Regions from separate parts of the Homo sapiens genome. Here all the other regions are linked to region 2. The links are contacts of gene promoters, found by promoter capture Hi-C in human tissues and cell types (Jung and others, 2019). All regions are on one chromosome and are shown on one strand. Each heading gives the region's core, a stretch centred on a gene start or on the middle of the fragment in contact. The rest is flanking DNA. Distances are from core to core; before and after follow the strand shown. Region 1 holds the start of TGFA (transforming growth factor alpha). Region 2 holds the start of SNRPG (small nuclear ribonucleoprotein polypeptide G). Region 3 overlaps MXD1 (MAX dimerization protein 1).

What was found. The method cuts DNA at HindIII sites, captures the fragments that hold promoters and counts their contacts. A contact is called where the count stands out against the background at its distance.
Region 1: the fragment with the promoter of TGFA here is called in contact with the fragment with the promoter of SNRPG in region 2 in 1 of the 25 tissues and cell types used here (adrenal gland).
Region 3: a contact is called between a fragment that was not itself captured here and the fragment with the promoter of SNRPG in region 2, in 1 of the 25 tissues and cell types used here (hippocampus).

What each region holds. Positions count from the first base shown.
Region 1 is chr2:70,552,143-70,556,305 of GRCh38, forward strand. It overlaps TGFA (transforming growth factor alpha), which reads right to left and starts at 1,684. Exons shown (of 6, transcript NM_003236.4): 1 at 1,586-1,684. The coding sequence starts at 1,625. It overlaps LOC124907824 (a long non-coding RNA gene), which reads left to right and starts at 566. Exons shown (of 2, transcript XR_007086906.1): 1 at 566-1,250. RefSeq lists a silencer at 1,745-1,814. The HindIII fragment of the contact is 16,400 bases long and covers 1-4,163 here.
Region 2 is chr2:70,290,948-70,295,111 of GRCh38, forward strand. SNRPG (small nuclear ribonucleoprotein polypeptide G) reads right to left here and starts at 2,793. Exons shown (of 4, transcript NM_003096.4): 1 at 2,671-2,793. The coding sequence starts at 2,702. It overlaps LOC124906023 (a long non-coding RNA gene), which reads left to right and starts at 2,955. Exons shown (of 2, transcript XR_007086880.1): 1 at 2,955-2,985; 2 at 4,111-4,164. RefSeq lists enhancers at 1,551-2,458, 2,475-2,954. The HindIII fragment of the contact is 9,687 bases long and covers 1-4,164 here.
Region 3 is chr2:69,931,448-69,935,552 of GRCh38, forward strand. It overlaps MXD1 (MAX dimerization protein 1), which reads left to right. Exons shown (of 6, transcript NM_002357.4): 4 at 3,904-4,018. It also overlaps a transcript of ASPRV1 not described here. Among named protein-coding and RNA genes, the nearest start is that of MXD1, 18 kb to the left of the region's middle. The HindIII fragment of the contact is 4,255 bases long and covers 294-4,105 here.

The DNA.
Region 1 (4,163 bases), core at 434-2,933, 260 kb after region 2:
CTTCCACGTTCTTCGACAATCCTGGTCCAGTTACTTACTGTGGACCCTGTGTGCTTTACTTTCCTCTGCTATATAATGAGAATAATATTAACACCTTCTTTATCCGGTTGGTGTGAAAACTGCATGAATAAATGTAAAGCACTTGGACTGTGTCTGACACAGAGTAAAATGCTCGAATAGCATCAGCTGTTATTACTACTACTACTTACTACTATTATTTGCAAAAACATTACAAGGGATAATTATATCCAGGAAGCTTCCCTTGTATTGGTAATGTTTTATTGCTTTTTCTAAAATTTAAATCAGAGCAACAGTCAATACATGCACACAAAAAAGGCAATTCTTCAAAAATGTGGGGGAAAAGCCTCCCATACCCATGTTACCTGCTGGTGAGTTTCAGGTAAGGGTGTAGCTGGGAGCATCCGGTTCCAAGACTGCCTTGTATTTCTCTTACAGGATGCCTCCCCTTCTGCTGCGGTTTTTAATCAGCGTTTCTAGGGCAGGCTTGCAGGCGGGGCCGCGAACCCCCTGTAGTTGTACACGGAGCTGGGTGAGGCTGCGGCTCTGGGCATTTCTGGGGAGGAGTTCCATGGCTTTCCACAGACTCTAACCACCCTGCAGCGAGCCGCATGCTATACGGGTTAAACTCGGGGCATATCGAACGAACAATTCACTTCACGGAAGACTAGCAATAACCAGGACACCTGCGCTATTGATCAGCTATCTCAACACCAGAGAGACCCACCAGCACAAGGGGCAAGAATTGGCCAGGAGGCGCGCGGCGCTGCGCCCTCACCGCGTCCAGACAGACCCTTGAACTTCACCGCCAAAAAACGCACCGCTCCGCAGACCCGACCCGGGAGAGGGGTTTAACTTCCCCTCACCTTTCCCATCCCTCCTTCATTTCCAAGGACATACTCAAAGGAAACTGGCAACACTCGGTCTAGGGTTTCGCTCCTGCCCTCGGCGGACACCGAAACCACTTCTCCCAGGGAAGTTAATTAAAGGAACCATTAATCCGCCCAAAAATCCAAAACCTACCCCCAAAGCTCAAGAGCTCTGAAAAGAGATCGAGGGCGCCTCTGCCGATCTTGAACATCTCTGCTCGTCGCTGGGGCTTAGAGGTGGGCAGGGGGTGCCAAAGGGGCGCAGGCAAGACCCGGCCAGAGGGTTAGACGCCGGCCCCCGTTCCGAGGCGGCCCAGTCTACACGCCAGCGACGCCGGCTGAGCCGGGCTTGGAGGCAGCCAGGTAAGCAGGTAGGTGTAGGCATGTGTCTGAGCAGACACACAGCTGCGGCGGATTAAAGTTCAAGCCCGTTCACACTCCGCTTCCCCTTCCCAGGTGTTCTCACGCACGGCCCAGGCAGCCACTTTCCCGGGGAAGCCTCGGCGCTCGACCGGACAGTCCCCTCTTTGTCATTCTTAATGACTCCCCTTGCCTCCCAGGCGCCAACCCATTGAGACTACTCGCTTCTCTCCACTCTCCCAGGCGGGCGCAGAAACCCCCGGAAAGGGGAACTCGGCGGGGACCGGGGGAAGCAGGGTGTCGCGCGGCGCAGGGGGCGCCGCAGCCGGCGTACGTACCCAGAGCGAACAGGGCGAGCTGTCCAGCCGAGGGGACCATTTTACGGGCGGGCGGGCAGCAGGCTCTCCAGCCTCCTGCCCTACCTGCGGTGCCCGAGTGGCGGAGCGGCGCCGCGGTGCGGGGGAAAAAGACGCAGACTAGGCAGGGCCTGCCCCCGGCGCGGGAGGGCGGAGGGAGGACCGAGCGCCTCTCTGCTGGCACTCGCCCCGCAGCGCTGCCCGCCGGGCGGAAATAGGAAGGCGGCTACCGTCACCTCCTCGCCACTCGGCGACCGGGGCACAGCTGACCCCCCCCTCCCGCCCCGATGGGGGTGCCCCCCTGAGGGCACAGAGGGTGGGGGTTTGGGGTAAGGGGCGGGGACGCTGAGCGCACCGAGCAGGGCGCGGGCTGCTGGGCGGGGCGACCTGGGATCCCAGAGCCTGGCGGCGCGAGCCGGGCACCCGGGCCGACGAAAAGGCAGGAAGCGCCTGACTTCAGACACCACCCCCGACTGCCAGCGCCGTGCGGCAGCGGACTCCAGCGTGCGGGGTCGGCGCCGGCCGCGTAGCCGGATTGTCCTGGGCCGCAGTGGCGGCTTCCAGGCTCTAGGCGGCGGAGCGGAGCCGCCCGGGCACCCGTTACCTACACCGAGGGGCCGCTCCTGGGGCATCTCTGGGGCGGGGAAGGCTGGAGGCTGGGGACGCAGCCAGGAAAGGGACCTGTGAGTTTCGCCGGCCGCTTGCCAAGACTTGGCTCAAGGAAAGTGGTCCCCTGAATCAATGAAGAATTTGTTAAACCAGGTTTCCCACCTGTGCCACAGTTCCCATCAATTCTGGCAACGCCTGCCGCCTTACCTCCCAGGCAGGCCACATCGTTAAGATCAGTCTTCGTACTTCTGGCCTGGGACTGATAAAAAATGGGTCTCTGTGACGAATCTGGTTATATGGCACCACCAGCTGAGGCCAAAAGCCTGCTAGCCTGCCACCAAGTGTACCCCGAAAGAGGGGTGTGTGGGCCCGAGTCACCTGGGTGGTCCTTTCAGGATTTGTGGCTCTGAGGTGGCCCCTGGTGCTGGAATTTGGGGAGGTGGAGGGGATAGAGGGAAGACATTCTGGGCGAAGAGTGGAAGATCCATAGGTTCCTCGGTGACCCTCATGGGGACAGTACACCCGGGAGATTCATGTTCTCCAGGTACCCGGAGCTCACGGACTGACCCTCTTCTCCTGCCTCCTCTGGCCTACGTGCTCCGGGTAGATCCACTTTCCTTGAAGGTGGGGGTGGGGGCTGTTGGGCCTGGGGAATCTTTTGCTGTTTACTTGGGGAGGCTCAGGCTCTCACGGTTGACCTCTGCCCAGTTTGTTTCATGTAAGTAGAGCAACCTAGTTTCAAGAAGGAAGCACCAGGCCATTGGTCTCAACATTTGGGCAGGAAGCACCAGTGTAAATCATTCCTTTCAATAGATTTGTCGGAGCATACTTTGTTCTTTTAGGGTAAATCTTTTCCTTGGTCCACCCCATGCATGTACAAGGCACACATGCACTTCCTTTAGTAGGTTGTCCCTGACTCCCACTTCCTTCAGGTTGATCTTGACCTGCTCTGGTGGTTTCCCTGTCTCCTCCCTAAACTAGTCTGCTTTGGCTACAGAAGGGGAGGAATCAGGGGTTCCCCCACCCTTCTCCTGTTCCCCAGGACTAGAGAAGGACCTGACTCCTTGCTTCCTACTGGAACACGCAAATCAAGCTCACTGTGGCTGAGGGATGGCTGCCCAGCCGGCTGAGGGTCATGTTCAGCAGTTTCTGCTTATCTGTCCCCTACCCCCAAAGTCAGAGGTGGAGGGAAGTAGCAGAATCAAGTCAATTTCCTTCATGATTGGAAAATATTTTAAATCAAGAGGTAACTTGCAGGCCAGGCATGGTGGCTCACACCTGTAATACCATCACTTTGGGAGGCTGAGGTGGGTGGATTGCTTGAGCTCAGGAGTTCGAGACCAGCCTGGGCAACATGGTAAAACCCCCCATTTCTACTAAACATACAAAAAATTAGCCAGACATGGTGGCGTGCGTCTGTAGTCCCAGCTACTTGGGAGGCTGAGGCACGAGAATCACTTGAACCTGGGAGGCAGAGGTTGCAGTGAGCCAAGATTGTGCCACTGCACTCCAGCCTGGATGACAGAACAAGACTCTGTCTCAAAAAAAAAAAAAAAAGAAAAAAAGAGATGGCCGGGCGCGGTGGCTCACGCCTGTAATCCCAGCACTTTGGGAGGCCGAGGCGGGCGGATCACGAGGTCAGGAGATCGAGACCATCCCGGCTAAAACGGTGAAACCCCGTCTCTACTAAAAATACAAAAAAAATTAGCCGGGCGTAGTGGCGGGCGCCTGTAGTCCCAGCTACTTGGGAGGCTGAGGCAGGAGAATGGCGTGAACCCGGGAGGCGGAGCTTGCAGTGAGCCGAGATCCCGCCACTGCACTCCAGCCTGGGCGACAGAGCGAGACTCCGTCTCAAAAAAAAAAAAAAAAAAAAAAAAAGAAAAAAAGAGATAACTTGCCATCTTACAAACTAAAGAGTATCCAAATCAAAGTACATTCTAATGCTTGAAAA
Region 2 (4,164 bases), core at 1,543-4,042:
TTGCGGTGAGCCAAGATCGCGCCACTGCACTCCAGCCTGGGCAATAAGAGTGAAACTCCATCTCAAAACACACACACACACACACACACACACACACACACACACACACACATATATGAAGTAAACTATATTTTAATAAGATACATAAAACGTATCAAATATAACACACAAGATCTTATACAATCTTTACAACGACTTTGCAATTATGGTCTATCATTTCCACCGTTTTTACAGATGGAGAACTAGGCTTGGAAAAGCTAAAGCAATTTTTCAAAGTCACACAGCAAGTGAGAGCAAACACAAATAGTTCAGTGTGACTGGAGAACGGAATACCTGAGTATTAGCAGCTAGAAGGTTTGGTGCTTGAATGCTGGGTTAAGTACAGACTCGATTTTGCATACTGTGATAAATTATTAAAGCAGTCACTGGCAAGACTACCGTGGCAGCAAATTTTAAGAAGTGGAAGGAAGAATTCAGTTAAGCCAGTGTATCTCAACTTCTATACTACTGACATTTGGGACCAGTTAATTTTGTATTGTTGGGGGCAGTCGAATAAGCAGTAGGATGTTTAGCAGCACCCTGGTGTCTACTCACTAGAAGCCGGTAGCACCAGATTCCCTACTCCCCATTTAAGAACACCTGAGTTATGCTACACCAGAAGGAGGGCATAATGGTGTAAAAGAAGATGCTATCTGTGAGAAAGCAGAGGAAGAAAAAATTTTTAAGTCATTTTGGCGGCAGATCTGACCGGATTTCACAATTCATGAAACCTACGAGGAAGAGAAAGGTATTAAAACTAGCTTCCTTCTCTGAAATTTTCAAAAACTATGTTATGAATCAGAAAGAAAATCTTAGATTACAAGTAGAGAATGGTCTTTTTGTTAAAAAAAAAAAAATCACCATTTCACCAGTCCCTGATGAATCCAGAGGATACTTACATCACCAAAAATAACTTTCAGATAAAAAGAGTAATTTTCACAATAATTTCTGAGTAACTTCTATTTTTTTTTTTTTTTTTGAGACGGAGTCTCGCTCTGTTGCCCAGGCTGGAGTGCAGTGGCGCGATCTCGGCTCACTGCAAGCTCCGCCTCCCGGGTTCACGCCATTCTCCTGCCTCAGCCTCCCGAGTAGCTGGGACTACAAGCGCCCGCCACCAAGCCCACGTAATTTTTTGTATTTTTATAGACACGGGGTTTCACCGTTTTAGCCATGATGATCTCCATCTCCTGACCTCGTGATCCGCCCGCCTCGGCCTCCCAAAGTGCTGGGATTACAGGCGTGAGCCACCGCGTTGGGCTTATGTTTTAATAATTAATTCCTTAACAGACCTAACTAAAATATACATAGAAGTAGTTTTCATACAAAAGATGGCTTTGATACAAATGGACCTTTAAATGCAAAAATATTATTATTTTTTGAAACAGAGTTTCGGTCTTGTTACCCAGGCTGGAGGGCAATGGCGCGATCTTGACTCACTGCAACCTCCGCTTCCCGGGTTCAAGCGATTCTCCTGCCTCAACCTCCGGAATAGCTGAGACTACAGGCGCACACCACCTGCCTGGCTAATTTTTTGTATTTTTAGTAGAGACGGGGGTTTCACCATGTTGGCCAGGCTGGTCTCGAACTCCTGACCTCAGGTGATCCTCCCGCCTCAGCCTCCCAAAGTGCTGGGATTACAGGCGTGAGCCACTGTGCCCGGCCGCAAAATTATTAAATAGGAACTTTACCTTTTGTCTGACTTCCATGGGCCTGGTAATAAATGAACTAACTATACACAAAGCCAACCACATGCTACGCCAGAAAAAACTGATCCCTGTAAAAATTTTGCATCCTTTGTGCAATCCAACTAATACATGTAGAATTCCAGCATCAGGAAGTATAAGCAAAACAGAAACGTAGTCAGGAAACACATAACCTGTTAAGTCCACTCAAAAAGTATTTGAGGAATTCAAAGCTTTACGTTGAGTCCTACCTAAAGTAAGGCTCTCCTACTTAAAGTTGTTTGACTTTACTGGGTGTGTAGAAAAAACTTCAAAAAATTAGCCTTCTCTGACTAGAAAAAATTAATGTTCTTAAAAAAAAAGAAAAATGAATGTTCTTATATAGTTTCAACATCAGAGCAAGATAACACATGACATTCAAGCTTAACGTAAAAGAAGGCAAGAAAAAGGAATGAGGTTTCTAAGTAAAAGCTCAAACACCTACAAACACATTTGCTAAGACTAAAGTGGCTTTCGGATTCTGATGCCTCACGTAGTTTTAAAAACACTTCCTTCCCTTCCAGCCCCTCCTTAGTTCCTTCAGAGAATTTCCCCCTCTAGCCGTCTATCTAGAACATGATACTATTCGAGATGTTCAACAAAAGGTAGCACTGGAGATCTTCAAGGAACGAGGGACAGCGCCGGGTGACCAGGGGCCAGACCGCGGGACCTGGAGACTAGTCGGCCGGAAGGAGGTGCCGTGGCTGCCGGCTGTAACCACACCGACGCGCGAGCTCTGCGCGGGCTTCACGTCTCATGCGCGGGAGCCTGGCCGGGATCCCGGCGACCTCGGACCGGAAGAAGAAATGAAGTGAAGCGGCTCAAGACATTCGGCTAACGGAGAGGGAACCAAGGGACTCGCAGGACGCAAATAACTGACCACTTCGGTTTGGCTCTCACACATACTTACTTTTTCAACTCGGGAGGGTGAGCTTTGCTCATGGTGTATACTCCGCGGGCTCACAGATGCCTTGGAACGCAACGCACGGCTTTCCTCACGCTCCCGCTGTAGGCCCGGCGTCTTGCGTCTGGCGTCATCGACCTCGTTAGCCAATGGATTGTTGGCAGTTTTTACATTTCACCTCGCGATATCTCAGCGCCTCGGTCATCGTTGAGCTTCCGGTTATGTCCTCAGCGATTGGCCAGGACGGAGGGGTGCGTCCTCTAGGCACCTTTCTGAATTCCGTTTTCCTTGTACAAAATTGAGATAACGGGTATTCCACCGGTGGGTATCCCTGCTCTTTTTCTTTTCTTTTTGAGACGGAGTCTAGCTCTGTCGCCCAGGCTGGAGTGCAGTGGCGCGATCTCGGCTCACTGCAAGCTCCGCCTCCCGGCCTCACGCCATTCTCCTGCCTCAGCCACCCGAATAGCTGGGACTACAGGCGCCCGCCACCATGCCCGGCTAATTTTGTGTATTTTTTAGTAGAGACGGGGTTTCGCCGTGTTAGCCAGGATGGTCTCGATCTCCTGACCTCGTTATCCGCCCGCCTCGGCCTCCCAAAGTGCTAGGATTACAGGCGTGAGCTACCGCGCCCAGCCGGTTATCCCTGCTCTTGTCTATGGAACAGCCAAAATAAATAAAAATAAATAAATAAATAAAAAAAGCCGGGCGCCGTAAATCCCAGAACTTTGGATCTCTTGAGCCCAGGAGTTCGAGACCAGCCTGTGCAACATAGCGAGACCCCTTCTCTATTTAAAAAATAAAATTGAGATATTGAGATAACGGTCCCGTCTCTAGCTCCTGGGCAAACCCGGCCAATCCCGCATGTCTGTGGATCGTATCGCTTATTTTCTTCATATATACCAATATACCAAATGATAATGATCCCTGGAGGAATGGGCCTCTCTCTATATATGTATATTTTTTTGAGACGGAGTCTTGCTCTGTCGCCCAGGCTGGAGTGCAGTGGCGCGATCTCGGCTCACTGCAAGCTCTGCCTCCCGGGTTCACGCCATTCTCCTGCCTCAGCCTCCCGAGTAGCTGGGACAACAGGTGCCCGCCACCACGCCGGGCTGATTTTTTGTATTTTTAGTAGACACCGTATTTCACTGTGTTAGCCAGGATGGTCTTGATCTCCTGACCTCGTGATCCGCTGGCCTCGGCCTCCCAAAGTGCTGGGATTACAGGCGTGAGCCCCCGCTCCCGGCTGGGCCTCTATATTTTTTTGGCAGGTAACCCTACAGCATACTGTCAGACCAAGTAGGGTTCCCGTAACATGTAAATTAGCAGCCTCTGAACCATTGTAGAGTAAGGTGACTGGGTCTGTCTCCAAGAATTTGAATCTATTTCTGACTGAGGGGTCTTGCAAAAAAAATTTTTTTTGAGATGAGTTCTTGCTCTGTCGCCTAGGCTGGGGAGCATGGTGTGATCATGGCTCACTGCAACCTCGAACTCCTGGCCTCA
Region 3 (4,105 bases), core at 1,171-3,670, 360 kb before region 2:
GCTTATTTCACTTAACCTAATGACCTCCAGTTCCATCCATGTTGTTGCAAATGACAGGATCCCATTCTTTTTATGGCTGAATAGTACTCCATTATGTATATGTACCACATTTCTCCAGACATTTACTCTTAATCACTGCATTAATATTTGGTTGCATAGTGACTGAGTCAGAATTTTTTAAAAAAATTAAAAATCAACAAAATTTGGGATACTTAAAACTTACTGAATAGAATCTATAGTTGTATCTAAATTTGTTATTACTAGTTATGGGCCATACTTGATTCAGAGCATGACTTATTATAGTTCAAAGATTGGTTTCTTTATGCCACTGTAGACCAAAGGTATATCAGCTTATTCAGAATAATTAAAGTTATGTTTCTGAAGAGTCAGAAGGTGAAGTTTGTTAGTCCATGGCCTAGGTACAAAGCAGTGTGGATCAGTGCTAAAGGAAGAGGCAGCCGGGTGCCAGGAAGATGGGAGGTAGCTCTTGGCAACAGAGGGAAGACTGAAGAAGATGTGATGGGAGGAGAGTCAACTTCCTGGGTCACACTGAGGTGTCGGGTGGCTTCCTGTTGAGGATATATGGCAAAACCCCTGCTAGTTCCCCAAATGGGAGTTTGACCTGGTTTAAAATGGGACAGCAGGGCACAGGAGTAGTCAGAACTGAGAAAAGAGAGCTGAGACGGGTGTTTGTTCTGCTTGTTTTGGATCTGGGAGCTCCGTGGGTACTCAGGGCTGGCAGAGGGATTCTAGATCCCAGGAGTTTGTGTGTCTGTATGTGTGTCTGTGTATGTGTGTGTGTGTCAGGGTTGGAGAGCTTTGGTAGGAGCTGTACATAACAGAGGGGTCTGTTTGCTTTTTTATCTGGTTCAGGGATTGGATTTCACTACTGTATGATAGAACTGAGTCTACTTAATATATTTCATTGCTCTCCTGTGGTTGGCCCGGGCACCAGTGTGGGGATGTCTGCAGGCAGTGGCATGTGGGCAGGGGGCAGCCATCAGGCTGCAGCAGTGAGGCGCCGGAGAAGGCCAAGGCAGACACTGCCAAAGACAGAGTTGGCTTTGGGTCTCTGCAAAAATCCAGAAAGAATTCTGGTCCTATTTTTGTAGAACTAGGCCAGAAAACACTGAATGAACAAGTATTAGTCTCAGCTGGAATTAGTCAAATGGCTTATTTCTAGTTTCACGACTAGGAGTGTTCTTTGGAAACCCACATTTGGGTAGTGAAAATTGCACTTTCTGGGCAAGACTCCTATAAGGCTAGAAATGACAATGCATCAAAAGATGACTTTATTATATTTTTATCAGTGGACAAACTTCCTAAAAAAATTCACACACTCATATCTGCATATAAACCAACATCATAAAAGTACTAAAATGACACTGTTCTGAATCATGCAGTCTTTGCAAATAACAAGCTGGCTGAAAAATATCTAAATATAATTTTAATTTTTGAACTTTTTCTTCTAATTGGAAAATTAGCTCATACCTGTAATCCCAGCACTTTGGGAGGCTGAGGCAGGCAGATTGCTTGAGGTCAGGAGTTCGAGACCAGCCTGGCCAACATGGTGAAACCCCATCTCTGCTAAAAATACAAAAATTAGCCGGACGTGGTGGCGGGCGCCTGTAATCCCAGATACTCAGGAGGCTGAAGAAGGAGAATCTGTTGAGCCTGGGAGGCAGAGGTTGCCATGAGCTGAGATCACGGCACTGTACTCCAGCCTGGGCGACAAGAGCAAGAACTCTGTCTCAAAAAAAAAAAAAAAAAAAAAAAACAAAAAAAGAAAATTAGTCTATAAGTTTTATGGCAAGAAATAGACAAATTTATAAATGTATAAATTATACTTTCTCATAGTGTTTCTAATAACATGATCTATTTTCATGGCTCTTTTTGAAGAATATTATCCAAGATGAACAAGTATATTTTACATACAAGTTTTCTTCCCTTCCCTGGTCCCCACCACATGCAGTAGTGGGAGGAGCACACCTGTAACATGAGTCTTTGCTCTGACTCTGCCACATGGACAGGTTTTTCAGAAGAAGTGAAAGACTTACAAAATAGTAAAGCCCTTGTGCTATTACCTCTTCCTAGCTCAGAAATGAATGCTGTACTCCCCAAGCTTGCCAAGCCTTAGAGCACCCTTGGAGAGTTTAGGACAACTTCCTCATGACCTAGAAGAGGCAGGAGGCTCAGAAGGAAGGAAGTCTAATGCCTTGCTTACTAGCCCTGCCTTAGGGGAACATCCTGAAGTCTCCCTGGAGAGTGTGAATTGACTTCTTACATTAATATCATGCATATTCACCTGTCCTATAGCTTTCTGAAGCCATTTCCTTTCTTTGGTCTATATTTTCAACTTTTGCTATTACAGTACAATTCTTAAGAGGAAAAAGGGCAAACCTATAAGGCATTGCATTGTTTCCCAATTCAGCTGGAGGGGAGCCTCCTAGACCCCAGGGAACTCTGCTCCAAGTAGGTTGTGTGTGGGCAATGAATGTTATCTAAAACCTGAAGACTCTGAGCACTGCTGAAGGTGCAAAGATGCAGTAGAGATGGACTCTGTCCTCTAGAAGCTTAAAGTCTAGTTGAATAGATGACATAATCCATTCAGCAAACACTTATTAAGCATGTGTGTGTTTGAGGCACGGTGACAGCACAGCAATGATTAAGCTGCAATCCTGACTTTCTAAGGAGACTGCAATGAATGGTTAAGTAAGAAATATGAAACAAGTCAGGCAGTACAGTGAACTTCCCAGTGAATAATATAAACAGTTAAGTGGTGCTTAGAAAATAGAGGAATCACTGTGAGCTAGGATGGCTTGGGAAGGCTTTAAGGAGGTGGTAAGCTTAAGCAAAACCCCCAAATCTCAGCTGCTTCTTACATTCATAGAATTTTCCAGGTTCTAGAATAAAGCACAAACCATTTCAAGGAAATGTAAATTTCTCAGTTGGAGCAACTCTCGTGCTCTCTCTTCAGTCAGTTGCCGTGGCTGCTGCTTCATCCAGCCCTTCTCCCTCTCCCACTCCGTGCCATTGCATCAGTCTGACATACTCCAAGAACAAAAAGTATAAAAAATGACTCAGTAAAAACCCCCATCACTTCCTTCCTTATCTCTGTCTGACTGTTCCTTGCCTTCTCCCTGCCCAGCCAGTTTCTTATGTGTCATTCCAGAGTTTGTCTACATACAAGAAAACATGAATATAGATTCTTGTTTTCCTCCATCTTTAAGATAGCATGGTATACTCACAGTTTGGAATCTTGCTTTTCTCCACTTAACAATATATCTGGAAAATCTTTCCTAATAGGACATAAAGCACATTCTCATTCTTTTTGATAGCTACATAGTACTACACGGTGTGGATGTAGCATAATTTATTTAACCAGTTCCCTCCTGGGTGGTCATTTGGGTTGTTTCAATCTTTGCTATTACAAATAAAGCTTCAACAAATAACTCCACAGATATATATGCTCCTTGACTTATGATGGGGTTATGTCTCAAGAAGCCCATCATAAATAAAAAACATCCCAAGTCTAATATGCATTTAATACTTCAATAAACTCATTATAAATTTAAAAAATTGTAAGTTGAACCATCATGAGTCAGGGACCATTACTGTATATAGTATTTACACATGTGAATGACTATATAATAGCAGATATTATTCCCTACCCCAGCACTTGTATTATCAATAGACTTAGCTTCGAAAACCTTGGATTTTGCTTCTCATTGGTTTTCACCAGAGTTGTCTGGTTCAAAATATGTTTATTCAGCAAAAGGTCATTGGTAGCATTTGCCATCGCAAGGCCTGGGCAACTTCACACTCTTTGAGAACTCATTCTGCCTGGGGTGCTTCTGGCCCACTGTGAAACTCTCAAATGCTACTGTGGTCTTGTTTTCATAGACGGGCTCATCTTCGCTTGTGCCTGGAGAAGTTGAAGGGGCTGGTGCCACTTGGACCCGAATCAAGTCGACACACTACGTTGAGTTTATTAACAAAAGCCAAATTGCACATAAAGGTAAGTGTATTGTTGGGATGCTGCTTTATCTTTACCTGTTCAGTGAGGGTTTGTCTGTTGTTACATCTCCAGGACAGTCCTCTCCCC